2 separate regions of the Homo sapiens genome follow, and region 2 is linked to region 1. Evidence: promoter capture Hi-C in human tissues and cell types (Jung and others, 2019). All regions are on one chromosome and are shown on one strand. Each heading gives the region's core, a stretch centred on a gene start or on the middle of the fragment in contact. The rest is flanking DNA. Distances are from core to core; before and after follow the strand shown.

What was found. The method cuts DNA at HindIII sites, captures the fragments that hold promoters and counts their contacts. A contact is called where the count stands out against the background at its distance.
Region 2: a contact is called between a fragment that was not itself captured here and the fragment with the promoter of ACTA1 in region 1, in 1 of the 25 tissues and cell types used here (mesendoderm cells).

What each region holds. Positions count from the first base shown.
Region 1 is chr1:229,432,844-229,440,578 of GRCh38, reverse strand. It overlaps ACTA1 (actin alpha 1, skeletal muscle), which reads left to right and starts at 6,485. Exons shown (of 7, transcript NM_001100.4): 1 at 6,485-6,575; 2 at 7,452-7,592; 3 at 7,699-7,735. The coding sequence starts at 7,464. It overlaps NUP133 (nucleoporin 133), which reads left to right. Exons shown (of 26, transcript NM_018230.3): 26 at 1-320. RefSeq lists an enhancer at 1-48 and silencers at 2,266-2,345, 2,811-3,011, 6,483-6,777. The HindIII fragment of the contact is 14,149 bases long and covers 1,480-7,735 here.
Region 2 is chr1:229,016,413-229,024,147 of GRCh38, reverse strand. No RefSeq gene overlaps it. Among named protein-coding and RNA genes, the nearest start is that of LINC02815, 130 kb to the left of the region's middle. The HindIII fragment of the contact is 5,472 bases long and covers 1,209-6,680 here.

The sequences.
Region 1 (7,735 bases), core at 5,236-7,735:
TCTCACCTGTAGGACCCTGTCGGGTGATAATGTGCTGCGAGACACACAGGCTCCCATCTCCCTCCCGTGCTGCTGCAAACCTGGTGATCCCTGGTGTATGGGACAGTACCGCAGGAAAGCCCATCTGATCATGCCCCAGAACCCACTGATCGCGTGGACGTAGAACGACTGCTCTTACCGTGTGAAGTAGAGTCATCCTGTTCAAGGGAAGAAAAAGCTCCCTCTTTTAATCCTGTTTCTCTCTAAGTTAGTAGCTATTACACCCAAATGGTTGAGTTTTTAAAAATTATTTTAACAGTAAAAATGAAATTAAGACCTAGGATTTTGAATAATTTTTTCTCTAGAATTTTAAAAATTGGTTTCACAACGTAGTCTTCATCAACGAGTTATTAATGGTTTTTATATAAATCAAGTAGCTGATAAGTATACAGATGCTGTGTTGACATTTCTGTGGAAAGAGATACTTTACTGACTTGGAAAAGGTTCGTGATCACACCTGTCTATAAGTGCTGCCCTGAGAGTCCCAGCTTGGGACCTTGACAGAATACAAGAGTAAAGTGTCGTGTGCGATCCTGAGCAGAGGGGAGTGTACGCAGGCATGGAGACTGGCGCGTCTGGAGGATTTGTGGACAGAATGGTGTCAAGGATTGCAGCAGACCTGGAGATAGACAGTAAAAACTTGCTGAACTCCTGAGTGAGGTAAAGGCTACTGACGCCTCTCTTTGAGGGCTTTCATTTTTAATGATTGAACTGTGTTTCTTTTTTTACTTTAGGGGCTGAATCGTAGTTTTCCTACCATCACCCACCTACATCCTACACACCTGGACATTTTGAGGCTAACTACAAAAGCAGTGTAGCCTGTTCCTGACATTTTATCCTGAGGATGCGTGAAAAAAAAAAAAAAAATATATATATATATATATATATACACACACACACACCCGTGTAAACAAATCCACTCATTAAAAACCAAGATACATTTAAAAAAAATAATACTGGGTCAGGTATGGTGGCTCACACCTGTAATCCTAGCACTTTGGGTGACCAAGATGGGAGAATCGTTTGAGCTGAGGAATTCACAACCAGCCTGGGCAACACAGCAAGACCCTGTCTGTACAAAAAAAATTACAAAAATTAGCCAGGCATGGTTATGTGTGCCTGTAGTCCTAGCTACTTGTGAGGCTGAGTTGGGAGGATTGCTTGAGCCCAGGAGTTTGTGACTACAGTGAGCCATGATCACACCACTGCACTCCAGCCTGGGTGACAGATTAAGACCCTGTCTCAAATAATATTATGTAATTCTAAATTTTAAGAAAAACACTGTAGAAAATGAAAAAGAAAATAGACCTCTGTAATCCCACCAGCTGGAAATAATTAGTCACCATTATGAAATAGACTTTTGGACTGCATATGCTTTTTCATTTTGTAACCTACTTTTCTCATGGGAGATGTGAGCATTTTGCTGTATCCTTAATCCAGTGTTTCTTGACCTTTTTTTTTTTATCACCCCTCCTGAGGAGCCTTTTTAGACAGTTTTTCCTAATCACCTCCCACTCCAAAGAAAGTGTAATACCACAGACCTACTATATATCATTCATTCATTCATTCATTCATTCATTCATTCATTTGGAAATGGAGTCTTGCTCTGTCACCCAGGCTGGAGTGCAGTGGCGCGATCTTGGCTCGCTGCAACCTCTGCCTCCTGGGTTCAAGCAATTCTCCTGCCTCAGCCTCCCGAGTAGCTGGGATTACAGGCACCCGCCATCATGCCTGGCTAATTTTTGTATTTTTAATAGAGACAGGGTTTCACCATGTTGGCCAGGCTGGTCTAGAACTCCTGACCTCAGGTGATCTGCCTGCCTCGGCCTCCCAAAGTGCTGGGATTATAGGCGTGAGCCACCACACTTGGCCGACTATCTTTTAAATGTACTGTGGCCTTTGGAAGCCATAAACCATTGTACTATCTGAATTTTTTTCACTCTCTAAGAACCAAGTTTTCCCCCTTTGAGAATGCCCATCTTAATTATTATTTAGAATACAATGTTTTAAATGCGTGATACTTTACCATATGGCAGAACCATAATTAATGTAACAGCCCTTATTCTCTTGCTGTAGCTCTCTCTCAAAAGACACATTTTTTTGACCATTTTAAATAATGCTAGAATAAATCTTTGTACAAAAATCTTTATGCCCTCCAAATACGGTGAACATGACATTGACTCTCCTTGCTCAGTTGCAGTGACATTGATGTGTGTATACTGAGCAGGCCAATGACTTTAATGTTCTTTTCTCACCTTTTCTGCCACTGCACTGTGTGCACCTGCCCCAAGCCCTTAGTCATTGGAAGCAAGACATGGCACCATGTGCTGAATGTTTCATATGTCTTAGGTACTCACCTAGTTTGTTGTTTTGTTTTTGGTTTTGGTTTTGGTTTTTTGAGACGGAGTCTTGCTCTGTTCCTAGGCTGGAGTGCAGTAGCGCAATCTCAGCTCACTGCAGCCTGTCTCTTGGGTTCAAGAGATTCTCCTGCCTCAGCCTCCCTAGTAGCTGGGATTACAGGCACCCGCCACCATGCCCAGCTAATTTTTTTGTATTTTTAGTAGAGACCAGGTTTCACCATGTTGGCCAGGCTGGTGTTGAACTCCTGACCTCAAGTGATCTGTCCACCTGGGCCTCCCAAAGTGCTGGGATTACAGACGTGAGCCACCGCACTCAGCTCTCACCTGGTTTTAATCCTCAGATCAGTCTTAAGGAGTATTGTGAGTTGAGAATGCTTTCTGGAAAGTCACTTGTCCAAGATCACATAGCCAGTCAGAGGGGAAGGTAAATGCAGCTCTGCTTGATTCCAGAATGCAAGCTCCTAACCAGTTCATGATATTCTGGGTATAAAGAATGTTGAAGAGAGGGCACTGCTCCAATGAATCATCAGGTTCTTAGAGGTGGCCATGAGTGCAAAAACCACCAGCTTCAGGAGGAGGAAAAAGTAGAAAATCCAAGCCCAAGCCCTTTCTTTGGGCTGCCAGGAGTTGACTCAACTTTTTTTTTTTTTTTTTTTTTGAGATGGAGTCTCTCTCTGTTGCCCAGGCCTGGCGTGCAGTGGTGGGATCTCGGCTCACTGCAACCTCTGCCTCCCAGGTTCAAGTGATTCTCCTGTCTCAGCCTCCCGAGTAGCTGGGATTATAGGTGTGCACCACCACGCCTGGCTAATTTTTGTGTTTTTAGTAGAGACGGGGTTTCACCATGTTGGCCAGGCTGGTCTTGAACTCCTGACCTCAAGTGATCCACCAGCCTCGGCTTCCCAAAGTGCTGGGATTACAGGCATGGGCCACCGCGCCTGGCCGACCCGACGTTTTTAAGTAGCTTGTGAGAATGAGTTGGTCTTTGTCTACCCTGTTCCTGGAATATCTCTAACTTGGAGTGCCCAGCCAGCCCCTCAAAGCTGAGTTTCTGGGGAAGCTACGGCTTTTCATGTCAGGATGTCTTTGGCTCATTACTGGGAAAGATCCCTCAAGGGCCTGTTCTGTTTCGAACTGTACCCAGTGTTGGTGAGGATTAGAGAGAAGCAGCAGTCCTTGCCCTCCCTGGCCACTGGCAGTAGAAGGAAGGACAGCCCAAGCCCGTCTCCTCCACTGGCTGCTGTGGAACCTGGGGTGTGTTTTAGCTCATTAAGCCTCAGTTTTCTTTAAAAAAGAAAAAAAACTGGAATGAGTAATACCTATCTTATTTACCTTAGGATAGTTAAACGGTTAATTGAAACACGAAAGCATATTATAAAGTGTTTTACCAATTCCTGTTTAAATTGATAGGAAACACAGTAGGAAGACTGGAACTGAGCAAGATTGGGGTACGGGTGTGTGGAGTGTTGAGGGGCACAATTGGAGAGAAGGGAAGTGTGAACACACCGGGGTAGTGGTAGCAGAAGGGCCCGGTCAGGGTATGAAGAGCTGAGGCTGCACCTGAAAACTTAGAAGCAGGAACTCCCTGTCAAGCATACCCTACATGGCTGACCTTTACTTAGTGACAGTTCTCAAAAGGCGGAGCAGGGCGCCGCTGCGCTCCCCCAAAACATACATGTATGGAGACGTGGCTCTGCCACCCACCATTCAGTCTATTCTCTAAGCCAATGAGAATGCAACAAGACCAGAATGGGACTGAGGGTGGCCTGTGGTGACCTGTCAGGGACTATTTAAACCAGCCGCAAATCATGTGGGCAGGGAACAGATGCCTGGCTGGCCACCTCAGGGGCCATCTCCCACAGTTTGCTGTACTAGCAGGTCTCTGTTCGCTTGTGAGTGTTTTTAATCATGGTCAGCTTTTAGTGTGGGTTTGAATGTAACAGACTGAGCTTAGAAAAGCTTTCTGTAAGGAAAGGTAAGAGTTGAACTGAGCAAGAGTTTTGAAAAATAGTGACAATCCCATTCTCCTTTGGAATGCGCACAAATATTGAGGTATCCAGTGAACGGCAGCAAATTTCCTACCTTCAAGGCCCAAATGTAAGCTAGTCCCCTTACGTTACATGCAGCTCATTTGCTAAGTGGTTTTTTTCTAGTATCTCCACTACTCGCTGACACAGGAGGACACAGGATGTTAAAAAGGAAATACAGTTCTGTCAATTATTCACTTACTCTCCAAAATACTTGGAAGAACTAAATATGGAACCATAGGAGACTTTATCCTCACCGCATAGTCCCTATACTAGTCAAACTCCTTATTTTTTAATTGATCATTTTTAGGAAGGTAGCATTTTATTCACTAGAACATTTTTGTTAATACTTGTTTATTTTTGGGATGAACTGCCATGATGTGGGCTACAGAGGAGGGTCGCATATGCTTCCATCCCCCTTTTAGAGAATCCACACCTGTCCCAGTTGCTGGGTTCCACTACCAAAAGTGAATTGCAACTATTTTAGGAGCACTTAAGCACATCCGAAAAATGAGTGATTCTGTTCTGGCCCACACCACATCACTGATGTACCCCCTTAAAGCATGTCCCTGAGTTCATCACAGAAGACTGCTCCTCCTGTGCCCTCCACAAGGTTAGAACTGTCCTTGTCTTAGGGAAAAAGGAGAGAGAGAGAGAGAGAGAGAGAGAGAGAGAGAGAGAGAGAGAGAGAGAGGGACAGGCACCAACTGGGTAACCTCTGCTGACCCCCACTCTACTTTACCATAAGTAGCTCCAAATCCTTCTAGAAAATCTGAAAGGCATAGCCCCATATATCAGTGATATAAATAGAACCTGCAGCAGGCTCTGGTAAATGATGACTACAAGGTGGACTGGGAGGCAGCCCGGCCTTGGCAGGCATCATCCTCTAAATATAAAGATGAGTTTGTTCAGCCTTTGCAGAAGGAAAAACTGCCACCCATCCTAGAGTGCCGCGTCCTTGTCCCCCCACCCCCTCCAATTTATTGGGAGGAAGGACCAGCTAAGCCTCATCTAGGAAGAGCCCCTCACCCATCTCCACCTCCACTCCAGGTCTAGCCAGTCCTGGGTTGTGACCCTTGTCTTTCAGCCCCAGGAGAGGGACACACATAGTGCCACCAAAGAGGCTGGGGGAGGGCCTCAGCCCACCAAAACCTGGGGCCAGTGCGTCCTACAGGAGGGGAACCCTCACCCCTTCAATCCCTTTAGGAGACCCAAGGGCGCTGCGCGTCCCTGAGGCGGACAGCTCCGTGTGCTCAGGCTTTGCGCCTGACAGGCCTATCCCCGGGAGCCCCCGCGCCTCCTCCCCGGCGCTCCGCCCTCGCCTCCCCCCGCCAGTTGTCTATCCTGCGACAGCTGCGCGCCCTCCGGCCGCCGGTGGCCCTCTGTGCGGTGGGGGAAGGGGTCGACGTGGCTCAGCTTTTTGGATTCAGGGAGCTCGGGGGTGGGAAGAGAGAAATGGAGTTCCAGGGGCGTAAAGGAGAGGGAGTTCGCCTTCCTTCCCTTCCTGAGACTCAGGAGTGACTGCTTCTCCAATCCTCCCAAGCCCACCACTCCACACGACTCCCTCTTCCCGGTAGTCGCAAGTGGGAGTTTGGGGATCTGAGCAAAGAACCCGAAGAGGAGTTGAAATATTGGAAGTCAGCAGTCAGGCACCTTCCCGAGCGCCCAGGGCGCTCAGAGTGGACATGGTTGGGGAGGCCTTTGGGACAGGTGCGGTTCCCGGAGCGCAGGCGCACACATGCACCCACCGGCGAACGCGGTGACCCTCGCCCCACCCCATCCCCTCCGGCGGGCAACTGGGTCGGGTCAGGAGGGGCAAACCCGCTAGGGAGACACTCCATATACGGCCCGGCCCGCGTTACCTGGGACCGGGCCAACCCGCTCCTTCTTTGGTCAACGCAGGGGACCCGGGCGGGGGCCCAGGCCGCGAACCGGCCGAGGGAGGGGGCTCTAGTGCCCAACACCCAAATATGGCTCGAGAAGGGCAGCGACATTCCTGCGGGGTGGCGCGGAGGGAATGCCCGCGGGCTATATAAAACCTGAGCAGAGGGACAAGCGGCCACCGCAGCGGACAGCGCCAAGTGAAGCCTCGCTTCCCCTCCGCGGCGACCAGGGCCCGAGCCGAGAGTAGCAGTTGTAGCTACCCGCCCAGGTAGGGCAGGAGTTGGGAGGGGACAGGGGGACAGGGCACTACCGAGGGGAACCTGAAGGACTCCGGGGCAGAACCCAGTCGGTTCACCTGGTCAGCCCCAGGCCTGCGCCCTGAGCGCTGTGCCTCGTCTCCGGAGCCACACGCGCTTTAAAAAGGAGGCAAGACAGTCAGCCTCTGGAAATTAGACTTCTCCAAATTTTTCTCTAGCCCCTTTGGGCTCCTTTACCTGGCATGTAGGATGTGCCTAGGGAGATAAACGGTTTTGCTTTAGTTGTCGCCAAGGCAGTTCCCTTCCAAACTAGCGCTAGAGCGAATGAGCGAGCAGCCAGGACCACCCATTCTGGGTTTCCAACAGGCGAAAAGGCCCTTTCTGAGTTTGAAATGTCACAGGGTTCCTAACAGGCCACTCTTCCCTGGATGGGGTGCCAACGCCTTTCCCATGGGCATCTCCTTCCACCCTCACGCTGGCCCAGCAAGCAGGCAGTGCTGAGGCCTTATCTCCCTAGGTGACAGATGTGGTCAGGGAGGCGCAGAGAGGATGGGCACTAGCGTCCAGCTCCTGGAACAGGTGTCAGGCAGGGAGGGCAGACAGGTCTTGGGGAACATGTTCCCCTGGCTATGTGGACAGAGGACTTCTCAGTGGGGTCTCGCGACCCTGTGCCCCTTTTCCTGGTTCAGGGCAGCCCTTAGCCGGGGCAAAGGTCGAGAAGAGAACCCCTGGTCGCCGCCCTGGCAGAATTTGAGTGGCTCCGGCAGGAGATGTCCCTAGGTTCCTGGGGAGGGAGGACGTCGGGGCCAGCCAGGCTTACCCCCCCCTGCCGCTGAGACTTCTGCGCTGATGCACCGCGCCTCTTCGCGGTCTCCCTGTCCTTGCAGAAACTAGACACAATGTGCGACGAAGACGAGACCACCGCCCTCGTGTGCGACAATGGCTCCGGCCTGGTGAAAGCCGGCTTCGCCGGGGATGACGCCCCTAGGGCCGTGTTCCCGTCCATCGTGGGCCGCCCCCGACACCAGGTCAGGCTGCCCCTCCGCAGAGGGAGCCGGCTCGGGGTCCCCGCGTAAGCCAGCCTGGTGCCACCCGGAGCGGCGTTAACGGGTGCGTGGTGTCTCGGCTCTGCAGGGCGTCATGGTCGGTATGGGTCAGAAAGATTCCTACG
Region 2 (7,735 bases), core at 2,695-5,194, 410 kb after region 1:
CTGCCACCATTCTGTGTCTGGCTGCTCTCCCAGAACCTGGTGCACTGACAAGGCCAGGCTGTGGCTCAGGTCCACATCCCAGGAACTGCCCTGCCCTGGGTGCGTTGATGGCGATGTTGGACGTGAAGGTGTCTGTGGGCTTAGTGTGCACACTCTCCCCTTTAGAGAAGTGGATGCTGGGAGTTTTATGTTGTCCCATGCTCCATCTGGCAGGACCCAGTCACCTGGATGCTGGTGTGGCCTGGGCCGACCGAGTATCTGTATCAGCTGCCGTCTTAGTGCTCTAAAATTTGCCAGTTCCCTTCCTGGGCTGATGGCCTGCAGGCTGTGCTGGCTGTCTCCATGGGAGCAAGGCTGTGGACTGCTGTGTGTCCCAGAGAGGAAGTGGACTACTGAGTTATGTGCGTACGACAGCCTGTGGTTTCTCTGTAGGCTGCAGCAGACCCAGCAGATGAGCCAAGGAGACCCTCCTTGCCTCTGCTCCACGCCGTTCACCATCCTCTGATTCTGTCCACCTCATAAATGAGAAATCCGAGGCTCCCTGAGGGTCAATGCATTGATCAAGGTTCAACTGCTTGGAAGTGGCATATCCCCAACTCAAAGTTAAGCTTTTTTATGCAAAAGCTGGTGCTACACTGTTGTACCTAGTGCCTGTTATATCTTGTGAGTAATTTTGCTTTGGCAGGACAGACCAGCAGTCTAGAAATCGTTTCTTAGTGATGCTAAAGGGCACCATGGTGGAGTCTTTTCCTTCATGACTAGAGTGATGTGCCTGCCCCAGGGAGCTCCTGACCTCTCCCTGGACTAATCAATGATGTTTGCAATGAATTATCCCACCCGAGATTTCCTTCTCCAAAAGAGGGGTTTTGCAGGGGCTCTGCTGTTTGGATAAGGCGGTGAGTCAAGGTAAGATTAGAAGCCTCTTGATCTGCAGAGAATAGTGCATTGTGGGTTCTGGCTGCACCCTACAGGGTTGGGACCCAGGCACTTCCTTTTCTGTATTGCTTGTTTGCAAGGAAAGGGCTCCTATGTCATCCATAGTGACCAAGCGGGTGATGACAAGTGTTCTTGCTCCCATCATGGGTATCTCTGGCCTGGACAGCCAGGAAGAAAATAGTGATTAACTTTGCGCCAGCTTTCCTTTCTCTGGTTGATTTGGCAAAAATGCTCTGACTTTCCCTTTTGTTCTGTTTGAGGAAAATTTTAGCAGGAGGAAAGATTTTGTCAGGCTGAATTGATCCAGTTGTGTTTCCAGGGCATCCAAGCCTCTCCCTGCGGCCCTGGCCCGCCTCCTCCCCATGCACCAGGCTCTGGCTCCCGGGTACTCCTCCTGCCATGGGGCCCACGCAGCAGCTACAATGCATGCTTTGTTCAGGGAGCCCTGGGGAGGCAGCTGGCTACAAAAAAGTTCATCCACTAACTGGGCTTGTCCTTGACATCTGGCTTCTCTCCTAGGACCTCATTTTCCCCAACTTAAGTGGGATTTTGAATTAATGAAATTATAGCCCTTTGAACTGACTTGAGAATTCTCTCCCAGGCTCAAATTACATCTCCACTCAGTGTGTCTAGATGGCTCCAACACTTTCACAGATCATCCCCTCCCAACCCCTAGGAGATCATCTACATTGCTGTTTTCCAGTTGTAGAAGAATGTGATTCAATAGAACCTACTGCCTGAGACAGTGATAGCATGTGTGCATTTATTGAGAGCACTATACTAGGCATTTTATACTAATTTTCTCTAAAATTCACAACCCATAAGGTAAATAATGATACAATATCCCAATTTTTCTGACAAGGAGACCAAAGCTTTTGTCTACAGTTACTCAGCTAGAGGGTGGCAGAAGCTAGATTTGAACCCATATCCCTCTAATGCTAAAGCCTGTGAGACTCCACGGTGTCCCTCTAAGTCACAAGTTGTCTGTGAGTGTATATTTACAAACACATGTGGACAAAAATTTTGATAGTAGCATCCACAAACGTCACATTGAGATGTGAAACAGGCCTCTAATAAATCAGATCGGGATATCTTCTTTGCTTCTCACCTGGCATGATGCTGGGTTTGTGGCAAGATACAAATATGTATAAAGTTGGCCTCCTGTTGCCTCAACACGAGATGCCTTTACATCCTAAAATTGCTATTACTTAAGTTAAAATACATCACACAGTCTACTTCAGCCTGCTTCAGGTCAACTTGTGGTTGTCACAGGGGCCAGCCTCAGAGGTAGACAGAGTTTAGACTTTTCAGTCTTACCCCCAGTGTCCTTCTTCTCTCACTGGGAATTTCCCTTTGATATTCCCACCAAATACCCTTGCCCTGGATGGAGTCATATTCTCTGAAGTATCTTCCATTCAAGGGTCCTAAGAGTCAAGGTCATTCCTGATGGAAACACACGCCTAGGAAAAGAAAATCAACCCTCAATGTGATCTAGGTCCTTTAGATCTAATTTCCACTTTTTAAAAAAATCCAAGGGTCAGAGGGACATGTTAAATGACACCATAAGAACATAGCAGCAAGTCCAGACTGGGGGAAACTGCAGGACAAATGACCTGGTTTCTTCTCCAATAAGAATTTGTAAAGAAAAAAAGGCCAAGTGTAGGTGCCCATGCCTGTAATCCTAGCACTTTGGGAAGCTGAGGTGGCGGGATCGCTCGAGCTCAGGAGTTCAGCCTGGGCCACATAATGAGACCTCATCTCTACTAAAAATTAAAAAAAAATTCACTGGGCATAGTGGCACCCACCTGTAGTCCTGGCTGTTTGGGAGCCTGAGGTGGGAAGATTGCTTGAGCCCAGGAGGTTGAGGCTGCAGTGAGCCGTGATTGTGCCACTGCACTCCAGCCTGGGGGACAGAATGAAACTGTATTGAAGAAGAAGAACAAGAACAAGAAGAAGAAGAAGAAGAGGAAGAGGAAGAGGAAGAGGAGGAAGAGGAGGAGGAGGAGGAAGAGGAAGAGGAAGAAAGAAGAAGAAGAAGGAGGATTTATAGAATATGTAGATAGAAAGAAACTTCAGAGACAAATCAACCAATCTCAGTATATGAATCTCTTATTAAATCCAGAGTCAAACAAATGAAGTACAAATTACAAGACAATTGGGAAAATGCAAACACTGGCTGGGTATATTATGAGACTAAGGACTAACATTAATTTCTTAAAAAGTAAGAATGATGTTATCATAATCATATATTTTTAAAAACAGCCCTTATCAATTGAAATACTTAGATATGCAATGATATGATATTTGTTCATACTAGTATTTGTTATACCATAGTCAGGGTAGGCAGCAGTTAATTGCTGGGTGTATAGACAAAATACTGTCTGCCATGTGTTGATAATTATTAAAACCAGGTAATGGATATGTTGGATTATTAAATATTGTCTGTAATTTTATATATATTTGAAATTTTCCATAATAATGAGTTAAAAAAAAAAACAAAAGAAAATAAGGGCATACCCCTTTATGCTCCGTCCCCAGTGGGTGGCCCAAGTGGAGGGTGGAGAACTTCGACTCTGGATTCAACCAGACTAGTTGGGCTCGCTGTGCCCACCACTGCCCAACTGGGAGCTCCACTGGATGGAACCCTGGCCTGATGTAACCATGGCTCACTGAGGACCAATCAGAAGGAGAAAGAGCTAGCTAGCACATTTAGAGGACAATCAGGAGAGTAATGGAAAGGAATTACCAGCACAATGGCAATCTATGAAAAGCACTTTGTAAATTGGGAATTAATAAATTCTTTTTAGTTACAATTCATGTATTCTTAGAACTAGGGATATAGCAATGTTCACAAATCCTCTTCCAGAGGAATTTAGAAAAAATAATTAGAGGATGGTGCAGAAACACAAGGATACAAATGATGTGGAAATGCCAGAGAGAGATCATGGCTGATGGGTAGGAAACTGAGGAATGACCTCAAGCATGCCTGGACTACCCCTGGTCCCAGGCTGGTGGGTTCAGGATGCACAGGGTGGGGCTGTCCTCCTTCCCGCCTGGCTAGCCTGCCTGGCAAGGCTAGCTCTTCACGGAACCGGCTCAAGAATAGAGATTGCACAAGTGTTTCAGCAAAGTGCTGCCACCTGGCAAGACTAGAATGCCAAGAAAACTAGAAGAGCCAGCAGGAGCAGAGAACTCCTGTCAAAGTGAAAGTGGGGGAGTGCCTTAGTCTGAGGGTTCAGCTCTCAGACAGTCAGTGTGTGCTGGGTGGATAGTGTGAGAGCGGGCCATGTCGCCCTTTCCTTTTGCTGCCTCCGGCCCTTGTCTCGAGAGCTACCTCTCTGGTCCTCAGATATCCCAAGAAGGCAGGACGGGGAAGGGGTCAGGTCCCCAGTGGTGGAGCTGGGAGGGGAACACTTATTTGTCCATTCAGGCAGGCTGGTGAAGGACTTAGGACTGCCCTGGTCATGCTGGGCTGATGTCATGCACTCAGGGACCAGGTTTGCATCCTAGCCTGCTTCCTATTTGTTTCTGTCCTTGGACAGGTTATTCATTTACCTCATCAGTAAAATAGGGATCCTCCTTCTGCACTGCTATCATAATTGAGATTATTGCCACGTGTTTCCAGGTAGGGGTTTGAGAGGGAGAATGAGCAAGAGGTGGTGAGGTGCGGGGACAAAACATGGGCTCCAGGGACAGACAGAGAGGAGAGATAAATCCCTGTTCCTCTTCTTGCCAGCACTTGGATAAGATTTTTAGAAATTTACATTTTCCCGTTGCTCAAAATTGTTGTTATCTTCTTTTACATTTTCTAGACAAACAAGTAAAAGTTTCTTCCATAATCCAGCTTCTCTCCCCCATCAATGTTGTAAAGAAAACCAGTAGTACTTAAGAGAGTGGATGGCAGGCATGGTGTGATTATGTGTGAGAGCTCTTGGGAAGCACTCAGTGTATTGGAACTTTCTTTCAAAGAAAGGAAGTGAGAGAAACAAACAAGTTAAGGGGACTGCTATGGTCTGAATGTTTGTCCCCCCCTCACCCCAACATTCATATTTTGAAATTTTAACCTCCAATGTGATGATATTTGGAGTTGGGGCCTTTGGGAGGTGATTAGCCCATGAGGGTGGGGCCCTCATGAGTTGGATGAGTGGCCTTATAAAAGAGATCCCAGAGAGCTCCCTCATCCCTTCCACCATGTGAGGACACAGAAAGAAGGTGCCGTCTGTGGACCAGAAAATGAGCCCTCACCAGACACGGAATCTTTGGCACCTTCTTCATGGAGTTCCAGCCTCCACAGCAGTGAGGAAGGAGTTTCTGTGTCTTGGAAGATGCCCAGCCCAAGGCATTTTGTTATAGCAGCTGGAATGGACTAAGACAGTGACCATTCTCCCTTTGCAACCACAGCAACACAGGGTTTTGAAAGCAGTCAATAAATGAGTCATATTAAATCACAGAAAATAATTCTCATATGGAAAAGTCATCTCTTTGTCTCCTTTTGCCTGCTGGGAAAGGCTGTCTCCTCTGAGCCTCCTTCTAGTGATCATGCACAGGTGTCGGTTAGAGATTCACTCTCAGTCTGTGGCTTTATTCACATCTGCTGCATCAGAGCTCAGCATTTGGGAGCCAGAGCCCACTGGGACAAGGGACAGCCACCATCTGGGAGGCAGAGCTGGGAGCCAGAAGGCACCCTTTTCTCCAGGACAGGACCACCACAGGCCTGGCTGTCTCTGTGATGGGCCCCCATCTCTGTCCTCTGAAGCCTTACCAGAAAAGTTATCGGCTGCAGGGAGATGGAGATATGAAGCCACTTTGAGGTCCTCAAAAAAAAGTTGCTCTAACACGACCAAACTCAGTATCTTTCAGAAGGCGGCCAGTTAGTGCTGTGGATGGGAGCCCTAAATGGTGACCTGGAATTGCAGCCTCACTGAGAGGCTTCCCCAGGGATCTGAGGCATGCAGCTCTCACTCTGCCACAGAGATGGCATCTGAATTGCCTTCTGTCCACGGAGGAGCAACAGCAGTGTCCCCACAAAGTAGTAGTGGGGACCTGGCTGTGGGCAGACTGAGACAGGGCCTGAAATATGCCAGGGAGTGGCTAAGTGGCAAACGGGAGCTAGAAATGGAGGGACCTGGGGAAGGGCAGCTCAATCGAGCACAAGTGGCACTCGCAGAGCAAGCAGGAGGAGTGTGAGACCATGCTTGTCGCATCCAGCTACCTGCACAGTGGGTGCTCCCGCCTCTCCCTAGTCCCCTGCATCAGCCCAGTCTCCATCATGCTGGCTCTCCACTTGCTGTGGCACTGAAAATTCCAGCCGAGGGCATTTCTACCAAGTTATTACTGACCAATAGCATTTAGCTTGTTTCCCTTCTCAGAGACAAACAAGTTTAAAAAAGAGTTTTCTGCTGCTTCTGCTGCTTCTCCTTCTCCTCCTCCTCCTCCTCCTCCTCCTTCTTCTTATAGAGACAAGGTCTTGCTCTGTCACTCAGGCTGGAGCTGGAATGCTGTGGGGTGATCATAGATCACTGAAACCTTGAACTCCTGGGCTCAAGTGATTCTCCCACCTCAGCCTTGCAGTAGCTAGGACTACAGGTGTGCACCACCACACTCAGCTAAATTTTTTGTAGAAAATAAGTCTGTTATGTTGCGCAGGCTGGTCTCACACTCCTGGGCTAAAGGGATCCTTCTGCCTTGACGTCCCAAAGCACTGGGATTACAGGTGTGAGCCACTGTGCCCAGCCAAAAAATAGTTTTCATTTACTGTACATCTATGTGGCATAACCTGAAATTTTTTCAAATCGAATCGCTCAGTCCAACTTTTATTTTGTCATGTGTTTTTCCAATTCTCATCCATTTGCATAAGCAAGGTTCATTTAATCATTTCTCATTTGACAAATGCTAGTGCCTGCTTTGTCATCCTAGAGTTTCACAACGTATTTTATGCTACTGAGAGCTCTGAGAAGTTCTGCCATAAAAAATCAATCTCTTCCACTTTCGCTTATCATCTTTTTTCCTTGATACAAATTCTGGTGGATTTATGCAACAGAATACTTTACAACTTCAGAGTCCAATGTGGAGCCCCAAGACCCCTGTGGCAATCCAGCACTTAAACTGGGACTGGTCTAAACTGAGACGTGCTGTAAGGGTAAAATCCATGTCAAGTTAGGAAGATAGGGCAAAAAGAAGAACATAAAACTTCACATTAACACTTTTTATTTATTAATTTTTTAAGACAGGATCTCACTCTTGCCCAGGCTGGGATGCAGTGATGCAATCACGATTCACCGTAGTCTCGACCTTCCCGGGCTCAGGTGATCCTCCCACCTCAGCCTCCTGAGTAGCTGGGACTACAGGCACATGCCACCACACCTGGCTAATTTTTGTATTTTTTGTAGAGACAGGGTTTTCGCCAGTTCACCCAGGCTGGTCTCAAACTCCTAGGCTCAAGTGATCCTCCCACCTCAGCCTCTCAAAGTGCTAAGACCACAGGCATGAGCCACAGTGCCCTTCATATTAACAATTTTGAGGGCAGTGGTGGAGAGGGCAGGGAGGATGGGAAGTTGTCCATCAAAGGGTACAGAGTTGCAGTTATGTAAGATGAGTAAGTCTAAGAGATTTAATGTACAACATGAGGACCATAGTTAATAATATTGTATTGTGTTGTATACTGGAAATTTGCTAAGAGGGTAGATTTTAGATACACTTAACCACACACACACACACACACACACACACACACACACACAGAGTAGCTAACTATATGGATAATGGGCATGTTAATTTGCTTGACTGTAGTAATCACTTC